Linked DNA regions of Homo sapiens: region 1 is linked to region 2. The links are contacts of gene promoters, found by promoter capture Hi-C in blood cells and fetal thymus (Javierre and others, 2016). All regions are on one chromosome and are shown on one strand. Each heading gives the region's core, a stretch centred on a gene start or on the middle of the fragment in contact. The rest is flanking DNA. Distances are from core to core; before and after follow the strand shown. Region 1 holds the start of LOC102725258 (a long non-coding RNA gene). Region 2 holds the start of H1-7 (H1.7 linker histone).

Region 1 (5,429 bases), core at 1,823-4,322, 130 kb after region 2:
GGCTAATCCTTCAATATTGAGGGCTCTGGAGCAGATGCAATACTTCACTTGATGCCTGATGAAACCAGAGTAAAGAACATTACAACCAGCACTTTCTTCATCTGTTGATATTATGATTCTATGTATGCAGCCTGTGATGACCCTGGCATTTTCACCACCCCGTAACACTGCCAAATTACTAGTTTACTAAGTTCCAAAAGGTTGACCACCATTCATCCATCCTGTTTTATAATTGGGCTTCTGGGACCAAGTGGGTACCTTCTATTACCCCACAGCTATACCCTTGTGCTTTTCCCATCATCTTTCCTCCTCAAACAGGCCCCAGATGCTAAGGAATGGCAGCATAGTGACGGAATTTATCCTCGTGGGCTTTCAGCAGAGCTCCACTTCCACACGAGCATTGCTCTTTGCCCTCTTCTTGGCCCTCTACAGCCTCACCATGGCCATGAATGGCCTCATCATCTTTATCACCTCCTGGACAGACCCCAAGCTCAACAGCCCCATGTACTTCTTCCTCGGCCATCTGTCTCTCCTGGATGTCTGCTTCATCACCACTACCATCCCACAGATGTTGATCCACCTCGTGGTCAGGGACCACATTGTCTCCTTTGTATGTTGCATGACCCAGATGTACTTTGTCTTCTGTGTTGGTGTGGCCGAGTGCATCCTCTTGGCTTTCATGGCCTATGACCGTTATGTTGCTATCTGCTACCCACTTAACTATGTCCCGATCATAAGCCAGAAGGTCTGTGTCAGGCTTGTGGGAACTGCCTGGTTCTTTGGGCTGATCAATGGCATCTTTCTCGAGTATATTTCATTCCGAGAGCCCTTCCGCAGAGACAACCACATAGAAAGCTTCTTCTGTGAGGCCCCCATAGTGATTGGCCTCTCTTGTGGGGACCCTCAGTTTAGTCTGTGGGCAATCTTTGCCGATGCCATCGTGGTAATTCTCAGCCCCATGGTGCTCACTGTCACTTCCTATGTGCACATCCTGGCCACCATCCTCAGCAAAGCCTCCTCCTCAGGTCGGGGGAAGACTTTCTCTACTTGTGCCTCTCACCTGACTGTGGTCATCTTTCTCTACACTTCAGCTATGTTCTCTTACATGAACCCCCACAGCACACATGGGCCTGACAAAGACAAACCTTTCTCCCTCCTGTACACCATCATTACCCCCATGTGCAACCCCATCATTTATAGTTTCCGCAACAAGGAAATTAAGGAGGCCATGGTGAGGGCACTTGGAAGAACCAGGCTGGCCCAGCCACAGTCTGTCTAGCAGGAAGGCCCTGAAAGGAAAGCTCCTTCACCTGGGGAATGGGAGAGTTACCCCATCCCCAGCCCTGGCAGATGAGTAACTCTCCTATGCTGAAAGGCTCCAGGAAAGAGCGTTCATGGCTTCCTTGGCACTAGAATCAGACCTGAAAGTTCCTCCTGATGTCCAATGTCCTGATGTTATCTCTCTGACTTCACTTCCACATTGTTTTTTCTTGGACCTTCCTCGGGAGAATTTCGGATTTTCCTTAGTTTTTTTCCTCAGTTTCTTTTCCTCTTAAGTTCTCACAACAGGATTCAATAAATAAGTGCACTTAACTCCATTTTATTTGTATATACCTTTACATGCTAGTCCCCCAACCTGAGTTTCGTACATACATTTAGAAATAAACTCTTTTATTTTTCAGCTCTTCATTTTACTGTTTTTCTTTCTCAAATTCCACTCTCACTTCCTGGGTCTACCCTCATCTACCCAATTCCTGTGAAAAGTAGGTAAAGAAGCAAGAAAAAAAGGGCTGGGCGCAGTGGCTCATGACTGTAATCTCAGCACTTTGGGAGGCTGAGGATGGAGTTTGAGACCTGCCTGGGCAACATAGGGAGACCCATCTCTACAAAAAATTTAAAAAATGAACTGGGTGTGGTGGCACATGCCTGTAGTCCCAGCTACTGAGGAGGCTGAGGTGGGAGGATTGCTTGAGCCTGGGAGGTTAAGGCTGCACGAGCAATGATAGCACTGCTGCACTCCAGCCTGAGCAACGCAGCAAGACCTTGTCTCATTAAAAAAAAAAAAAATGAAGAAGAAGAAGGAAGGAAGGAAGGGAGGGAAGGAGGGAGGGAGGGAAGGGAAGGGAAGAAAGAGGGAACTAGGGGTAAGTACTCACATAAGAAAAGTCAGTTAAAGAAAAAAAAAAGATCAGCACCCTGAACTTCATCTTCTTAGCTTCCACCAGTCATGGGGGGAGAATGATACTAAATGTCAACAGTGCACTCAATTTGTCTGTGTTGTGTGTTGTCGGGGACGGATGGGTGATAGAGGCCAGTGTGCCAAACCCCTTCTCCTAAATCCTCTAGCTTCCTTTAGCAACAGGACCGTCTGCATGATATTTCCCTTCCCATGCAAGTGGCAAGTGCCTCTACCAAGCTTCTCAGGTTACCTATTTCCTTCCCTGTTATCCATACCCCAAATTAACTCCCCTCTCCCCCTACTGCCTTCCTTTTTCTCTTCCATCTTTCATTTCATTCCACCTCAATCCTACTCCACCTTACCTCCTCATCTTACATGGATCCCTGTATTTTAAGGAACCCTTCTGCATACTACCTCTACCATTGCAGAAGTCTTTCAATTTGTAACCCTGCCCTCTGTGGCTTCCTCTAGCTTCTCACCTTAACCAAACACAGCTTTCTTTGAGAAGGTACTACATCCTCAGCAGTTCTCTTTCTTTGAAAATTGCATTTTTCTCATACCCCTTCATAATAAAACAAGGGGGTAGGCCTGTTCTTTATTTCGCAGTGCACTTCCATAATATGAATGGACCTCATTTGGGATGCTCTCAAATAGATGTACTGCCCTTTCCACTCCTGCGCATCACACACTACCCTTTGCAATGATGACTTAAAACAGTAGCTTCTGGCAGCACGTGGTGGCTCACACCTGTGATTCCAGCACTGTGGGAGGCCAAGGTGGGCAGATTACTTGAGGCCAGGAGCTCAAGACCAGCTTGGTCAACATGGTGAAACCCCGTCTCTAATAAAAATACAAAAATTAGCTGGGCGTGGTAGCGCATGCTTGTAATTCTAGCTACTTGAGAGGCTGAGGCAGGAGGATCACTTGAACCCAGGAGGCAGAGGCTGCAGTGAGCCATAATTACACCACTGCACTCCAGCCTGGGTGACAGAGTGAGACTCTATCTCAGGCAAAACAAAACAAAACAAAACAAAACAAAAACAGTAGCTTCACTCCACAAAACTCCAATCTTTTGAGTCCAAATTGATTTCTCCAGAAATCAGAGGATGTGAGAAGCTCTTCTTAACAAGGAGAAAGGAGAAACCACTGTAATTGGGAAGAAACGATAAATGCAGAACCTAAAATTTCCATTGTCAAAATTTGCATCAAAGTTAAACAGGCAAGAAAGACCTTAAGACTATTGCAATACGAGATTAAACTCAACACTACTCAAACAAGGGTCTGGGAAGTTTTTAAGAGCTGCTGTACGGGAAATCACATGACATCTGTGTTTGCTAACTGCAAAGGAAAAGGACACTTTCTTGTATCTTCAAAACAAGCTGTAGTTTTACAATTCCAAACAAGGCACCCACAGGAGGTTAGGCTCCCACCCTCCCACAGAGACTGAGAGATAGGGGTGCTATCTTCCTTGATGATTACATTTCAAAGGGATGGCTCACAGGTCCTTGAGAAAGACATTCCCTAGGTCGTAAAACTGGCATAAGCTTCTAAGGAGATTTATACACATTTCAAAGGAGCAGAGAAGAATTTTGCAATCACAAGTTTTCTAAAGTAAACACTCAAAGAAAGGGGAGGTCAGGGCCCTAACATCCAGAAGAAACCTGTCTAAAGTTGTCAGGCTGAGGTGAATGTTAAGGCTCTTTTGGTCACCACTGAGAACAACAACAAAAAGGTCCCAATCTTTCCCCCTAGGGTCTCAGCTTCTTCTCTAGGTTTGAAAATTCCTATCTCAAAGAGGAAAAAGTGAAGGAAAGGAAGAAAGGGAAAGGAGAAGAAAGACTGCTTTTAAAAAGTTTTCTAAGAAATCATTTCTTAGCTTTACATTTGCCCAGCACTGACAGACGCTGAGATTATAAACAAGACAGTTCCAGCTTTTGAGAATCTCAGTCTAGTAGGGCAGGCAAGAACAAATAATGGTAATAGAAAGGGCAAGCGTTATAAAAGGCCTACACAAAGTACTTTGGAAGCACATATGATAACATACTTATTAAGCACTTATATTGTAAGAGCTTTCCATTTAATCGTCACATAACCTTATGAGGTACTAGTATTATCTCAATGTTGAGATGCAAAAACTGAGGCTCATAGAGGTCAAATACTCAAAATCCACAGCATTTACAATGGCATAGAGGCCTGCGCCTATAATCCCATACACTCAGGAGGCTGAGGCGGGAGGATTGCTTGACCCCAGCCTGCAGTAAGCTATGATCCCGCCACTGCACTCTAGCCTGGGCGACACAGCGAGATCCCATCTCTAAAAAAAAAAAATTAAACTAAAGAAAAATAATAGAACAGCATAGCTCCTGTTCCTAAGCCTGCACTCCTAAGAAGGTCCAGGACAGCGCAGGCTTTATACCAAGGAGGTGATACTGGCTGCGCCGTTAAAAATACGCTGGAGTTGTAACGTAGAAAATTGGGGCGGGGGTTCGATACCGGGGACGAGTGAAATTCCAGGCAAGAGGAATCGCCCGCTTCGTCGTAGAACTGGTGTTGTCAACATGGATGGCGGAAGGTGAGCTGGGGCCCGGAATGCTGGCAAAGCAGGCCGAGTGACCTAGAACTGCTTTTTCAAGGACGAGCACTGTCTCATTCAAGGCCCTGGGCTCCCGGAGGCCCGGGCGCCAGACGGGAACGGACGCGAACCGAGCTCGCACTAGAAGCCACGGCCCTGGCCGCGTCTCCCCTGCCGTAGCTTCGGCCCTGGTCCCTGGTCTCTGGAGGACACAAATTGCCCCCAGACTCTGCGAAAACCCATGAAAATGTAATTAACCAGAAACCACCCTGAAACTGCACGGCACTTCCCAGTCCCCTTTCATGTCCCAATGAAAGACACTTGTCGCTGGTGAGCACGCAACCAGGCTCTGAGGTTACCACGGCGCAGCCCAAAGACCGAAAATATGGGAAGGGTACCCAGGAATTGCCTCCCGCAGGGTTTGGCTGGGCCCTCGGCTCCCTCACACTGAAAGCTGAAGCTGTCGCCATATTTCCGAGGCCGGCTCCGCGACGCACTTGCAAACTACCCAAGAGGCTGTAGGGCCCCTGACCTAATTAGAACCTGGAGAGGAAATAGGCGTGGCCCGCGCTGACGGCCTGTGACGAATCAGCCTTCTTCGGCCTCTCGGACCGGGGCTGTGGCAGCCAATGAGCGCCCTCTCTTTGGCCGCCTCGCCCGCGCCGAATTGCGGGAACC
Region 2 (5,419 bases), core at 2,046-4,545:
CCCCTACTGGGAAGTGAGGAGCCCCTCTGCCCGGCCACCACCCCGTCTGGGAGGTGTGCCCAACAGCTCATTGAGAACGGGCCAGGATGACAATGGCGGCTTTGTGGAATAGAAAGGCGGGAAAGGTGGGGAAAAGATTGAGAAATCGGATGGTTGCCGTGTCTGTGTAGAAAGAAGTAGACATGGGAGACTTTTCATTTTGTTCTGCACTAAGAAAAATTCCTCTGCCTTGGGATCCTGTTGATCTGTGACCTTACCCCCAACCCTGTGCTCTCTGAAACATGTGCTGTGTCCACTCAGGGTTAAATGGATTAAGGGCGGTGCAAGATGTGCTTTGTTAAACAGATGCTTGAAGGCAACATGCTGGTTAAGAGTCATCACCACTCCCTAATCTCAAGTACCCAGGGACACAAACACTGCGGAAGGCCGCAGGGTCCTCTGCCTAGGAAAACCAGAGACCTTTGTTCACTTGTTTATCTGCTGACCTTCCCTCCACTATTGTCCCATGACCCTGCCAAATCCCCCTCTGTGAGAAACACCCAAGAATTATCAATAAAAAAATAAATTAAAAAAAAAAATAAACTTAATTACAACATGGGGAAATGTCAAGTTCTGATCATCTATAGATGAGATAATGCTGCAAGAATTCTGCGGTTACTAGGCTTTGCATAGGCTTAAAGCAGTGATTCTCAAGGGTGTGAAAGGGTAAATATTAGCATCACTTAAGGGTGGTTTTTTGGTGTTTTTTTTTTTTTTTGGTCTGTTTTAAATACACATACCCTGTTGCCGCTTGTAGGAGATATAAGACTCTCCTGAGGAAAAGCTTGGTCAGGTGTACCTGGAGAAAGCTCCCAGGAGGTTCTAATACCTTCCCACTGCCACTTTTACCTCTTTAAGAATACAAAGTACTTCCCAGCCGCTTCCATGTCCCCATTCCTTTGACTTCGGCTGAAAACAGCTACTCTTTCCTTCAATCAGCTAATTTGACGTTTTACTTCCCGAGGAATCATTTGTGTCCTGTCAGCCTATGGCATGAGAACTACTCCTGCACTTTTCTTAACCCCTGCATTCAGAACTAAAATCATACATTTGTTTCATACTTGTTACACAGTGCTCAATACATGTTGTTATTGTTAAGAAAAGCAAAAGACCTATTCATTATCTAGCCTTCTCCATCTCCTTGTATTTGTGCTATGCAATCTGTCAATCTTCATAATTTCCTCTTTAGGAGTTGGCACTTTCTCAGAAGATAATTTCCTTATTGCTGAATTTTGTCAAGAAAACCATTATGCCATGATGTTTAAGTCCCCTTTTCATTTTACTGACATTTAAATCACCTAGAAATCATCTTAGCTCAATCCCAACATTTTACTGAGAAGAAAACCAAGACCATGAATGGTTAAGAAATAACTCAGCAAAGGTCAGACTAGCAGAACTTTGACTAGAATCTTGGTCTTACTACATAGTGGTCCAGCAGTTTTCTGCTATAGCACATTACCACTCCATCGGGAATTAATTATACACATATTTAACTCTCAGTGATGAGTACCTATCCTATGCCAGGCCCTATGCTGGATGCTTTCATACACTTATTTAACTGAGGATTGACATAAGAATATCTTTTAAATTAAAATAGGTTATCAATTCAAGGCAAAAACTACAAACTCATTATAATCAATTTTGGGAGGACTTTGTCCTAAAAGGAATTTCAGGTAAGAACACTTTGAATCAGTGGGACCACTCAACTTAAAGACTGTCTACTCTTTTCCCAACATGCCTTCCTCCCCAGAACTCAATTTGGATTTGCTAGAGTATCTAACAATACTTCAACACTTGTTAAGCTGCTGGTTTTCCTCTGTTTTCTCTCCTTCTAAAAGACATTTCTCTGAGTTCTGCAGCAGGAACAGAATCTCAGCTAATTTACTGTCTTCACTGAACGTTACCACCACCCACCCCTTCCCTTCCAGGTGCGGCAAAGAGGAAACAGACACAAGGTGGTCTAGAGGTCCATTTCATTTCAATGAGTGTGACAGCCGCTCTTCTTGGGGCCTATGGGGGAAAGGCATTGGTCCGTGGTGGGAGTGAAGCTGCTCCCACAAGATGCATTCCCAACTGGATCAGGAAGACCTTCAGATTTAGGGGAGGTCTTTGTGGAAGTCTTTAGTGGAGTCTTCCCCTGCCCGCTAGATGTCCGGTCGGTTTTAGCCCGCGTTGGCTACTGGATGGTCCGCTGTGCGGGCTTCTTGGGCTCCTGCTTCTCTTCCCTGGGCTTGGAGCTTCGCCTCTTGTCCTTCCCTGACCTCGGCGTGGTGTCTTCCTTCACGGCCTGTCCTCGCCCCTCGTCTGCCGCTGTCGCTCCCGCTTCCTCCTTGGCTCTGGCACACGGCGGCTCCTTGGCTCTCGGCCTTGCCCTCCTGGTCCTCCTCGCCCTGGCATTGGCCTTGGCTTTCGCCCTCGCGTTCCGTCTCCACACTTCTCTGGCCTTCCTGGCCGCCTTGCGAAGGGGCTGGCGGCGCCTCCGGGAGCTCCGGGGCGCGGCTGGGGTCCTCCAGGGAGCGCGCGTGCCCTCCTCTTGCCTCGCGCGTCCCGGCTTTCTCCTGGGCTTGGGAACCTTCCAGACCCTGAAGTAGCCGGCGGCGTCGCTGCCGCTGACCCGGAGGAGCGTGGCCTTGGCCTGCCCCCTGGGCGCTTCGTGGCGGCCGCTCTTCCTGCGCACTTCGTAGCCGGCGTTTCGGAGCTCCTTCTTGAGAGCTGCCAGAGTCAGCCCTTTGTGAGTGGAGATGGCCTGGAGCACCAACTGGGACACTCTGAGCACGGAGCTTGAGCAGCCCCTCGATGGTCCCCCGACAGTTTTTTCCGCTGGCAGCTGAGTGGCTGAGTGTCCTCGGGATTCGCCACTGGGCCCAGGCGCCTCAGCCATGGCCCCACTCCCGCCTCTGCGGGGCCACCGGCTTTGGGCCTCACCAGTCAAGGCCTGTTCCATAGCTGAGGTAGACTGGGCCACGTCACAAAGGCAGGCCTGGCAGAGATTTTCAGGTCCTAATTATGGGGCTGGCATATCTCACCCGGGGAGGGGCCCTTTTCACTTATAATAACCAATCAAATGCCACTTCCTTCTAGGTCTAAACCAATCCAAGTCTTCAGCGCCTGTCCACCCCCAACAGTCACCTACCTATAGAGTCTCCAGGGTTTTGTTCCCAAATCAAACTTACTGATCTCGATCTCCACCGCTTTCTTTAGTCGGCTATTTTGTGTGTGTATGTGGTCCTGCAAACCATCTACCCACAGTTCCTTAAGGTGAGCGAAGCTGCTCCCAACTATCCAAAACAAGCAACACACTGCCTGTAGAAAGTACACGGGGTAGTCCATGAAACACAACCCAGATTAGAAACTCCCACCTTTAATTCCACCAGTCAGGTATCTGAAGTCATGTCTCCCTAATTCTACACAGTGGATTCTGTGCAAGAGCATGAAGTAAAAAAGGAACCAATTGTGTGATCCCTCTACCCTAAACACTGATTCCCACACCTGGGAAATTTAGATGACGCATTCAACTGTACTGAAACAATCTAGATTTCACATCGCCTGAGGATACTGGTCTAATCATTATTCTTTGAACATACTGTGTTTTTTTCCATCTCATCCCCTCTCTTGGATTTCTCATCCTCTTTGTCTGCCCAGATAAGTCCTGCTCATCTTTCAAGGTACTGCTACATTATCCTTCTTCACTGAAGACTCCCCAAACTCTTTCAAATGATTTCTTGCCTCTTAACTACCACAACCACCAAAATTACTTCTGCAATCTTATATGGCTTTTTCTTTATTTTAAATGAATTTGGCATTAGAGGGTATAATGTGACACAATATTTTTTAAAAAGAAAAAAACTCGTACTTGGAGCTGGAAGATATGGATGCATATCCTAGCTCTTTAGGAGCCATATGACATTAACAAATCCCTTAATATCAGTGGTGTGGCTGTCAGATGGATGTGCCGGCCATCTGACTTCTTATCTAACATCACATTCCCTTCCTACCAACATCACAGAATTATTGCAAAATTTCAGAAGAGGTAGATGAACAAGGGCTACCTAAATATAAGGAATAAATTTACTTTACTTTGAATGTTTCTGTCTTGTATTTCCAACTAAATAAAGATATCCTCAAGAGCTATAGTCTTTGAACTTCTATGTCCCATGCTGCACCTAACAATATGCTTCATTATACACAGCGGGCATTTAATTGAGCCTGCTTACATCATTCCTCTCTGGTGAGGAGAGTTTCTCTAGATTCAGAAAGAAACTTCCAGAAGATCAGGAGAAAGGAGCAGAGTGAATTTCAAAGGGTTGGAAATGAAGGGGGCCAAGTAAGGATTAGCTTATCAAGGACCTATTTTGGACACAGTTTAGTTGGGAATAATTTAAAGTATTATTCTAAGAATACTTCAAATTGCCAAGCATATCATACTTTTCCAGAGGGCAATCACATACATTCATCAGTCACAGGCTAGACAGTGACAGTTTCTTTTAAAAATCAAAGCTCCAGGAAGTAGCTTAGACCAGTGCTTTTTTTTTTTTTTTTTGAGACAGAGTCTTGCTCAGCCCAGGCTATGTAATGGCACAATCTTGGCTCACTGTAACCTCCACCTCCTGGGTTCAAGCAATTCCTGTGTCTCACCCTCCCAAGAAGCTGGGATTACAAGCATGTGCCACCACATCCAGCTAATTTTTTTTTTTTTTTTTTGAGACAAAGTCTCACTCTGTTGCCCAGGCTGGAGTGCAGTGGTGCAATCTCGGCTCACTGCAACCTCCGCCTCCTGGGTTCAAGTGATTCTCGTGCCTCAGCCTCCCAAGTAGCTAGGATTACAGGTTCCTGCTACCATGCCCAGCTAATCTTAGTATTTTTAGTGGAGATGGGGTTTCACCAGGCTGGTTGGCCAAGCTGGTCTCAGACTCCTGACCTCAGGTGATCCACCCACCTTGGCCTCCCAAAGTGCTGGGATTACAGGCGTGAGCCACTGCGCCTGGCCCTTATTTATTTATATATTGGTAGAGACGAGGTTTTGCCATGTTGGCCAGGCTGGTCTCGAACTCCTGGCCTCAAGCAATCCACCCACCTCAGCCTCACAAACTGCTGGGATTATAGGCATGAGCCACTGCGCCCAGCCAGACCAGTGCTTCTTAAACTTCAATGTGCATATTTAATACCCTGGGATACTCATAAAGTGCAATTCATAGGTCTGAAGATAGGGCTAGAGGTTTTACCTTCTAAGAAGCTTCCAGGTAGTTCTATCTGGTTAAAACACAGGTGTGTGTTGAGGGGCAGGGAGAGGGTAGACAATGAGAAGGGGAGTAGCAGGAGATACGACTGAAAAGGTAGTTAAGGGACATTGGGAAGGACAACTAGTGATAATGACAGAGCT

Evidence for each region. Contacts are between HindIII fragments. The CHiCAGO score rates a contact against its expected background, and 5 or more counts as called.
Region 1: a fragment that was not itself captured here is called in contact with the fragment with the promoter of H1-7 in region 2 in 2 of 17 cell types (M0 macrophages and M1 macrophages); the score reaches 6.0 in M0 macrophages.

What each region holds. Positions count from the first base shown.
Region 1 is chr12:48,198,189-48,203,617 of GRCh38, reverse strand. LOC102725258 (a long non-coding RNA gene) reads right to left here and starts at 5,257. Exons shown (of 3, transcript XR_001749122.3): 1 at 5,198-5,257. OR10AD1 (olfactory receptor family 10 subfamily AD member 1) reads left to right here and starts at 326. Exons shown (of 1, transcript NM_001004134.1): 1 at 326-1,279. The coding sequence starts at 326. The coding sequence ends at 1,279. The HindIII fragment of the contact is 1,307 bases long and covers 2,419-3,725 here.
Region 2 is chr12:48,326,856-48,332,274 of GRCh38, reverse strand. H1-7 (H1.7 linker histone) reads right to left here and starts at 3,295. Exons shown (of 1, transcript NM_181788.1): 1 at 1,996-3,295. The coding sequence starts at 2,983. The coding sequence ends at 2,216. RefSeq lists an enhancer at 2,038-2,537. The HindIII fragment of the contact is 4,449 bases long and covers 826-5,274 here.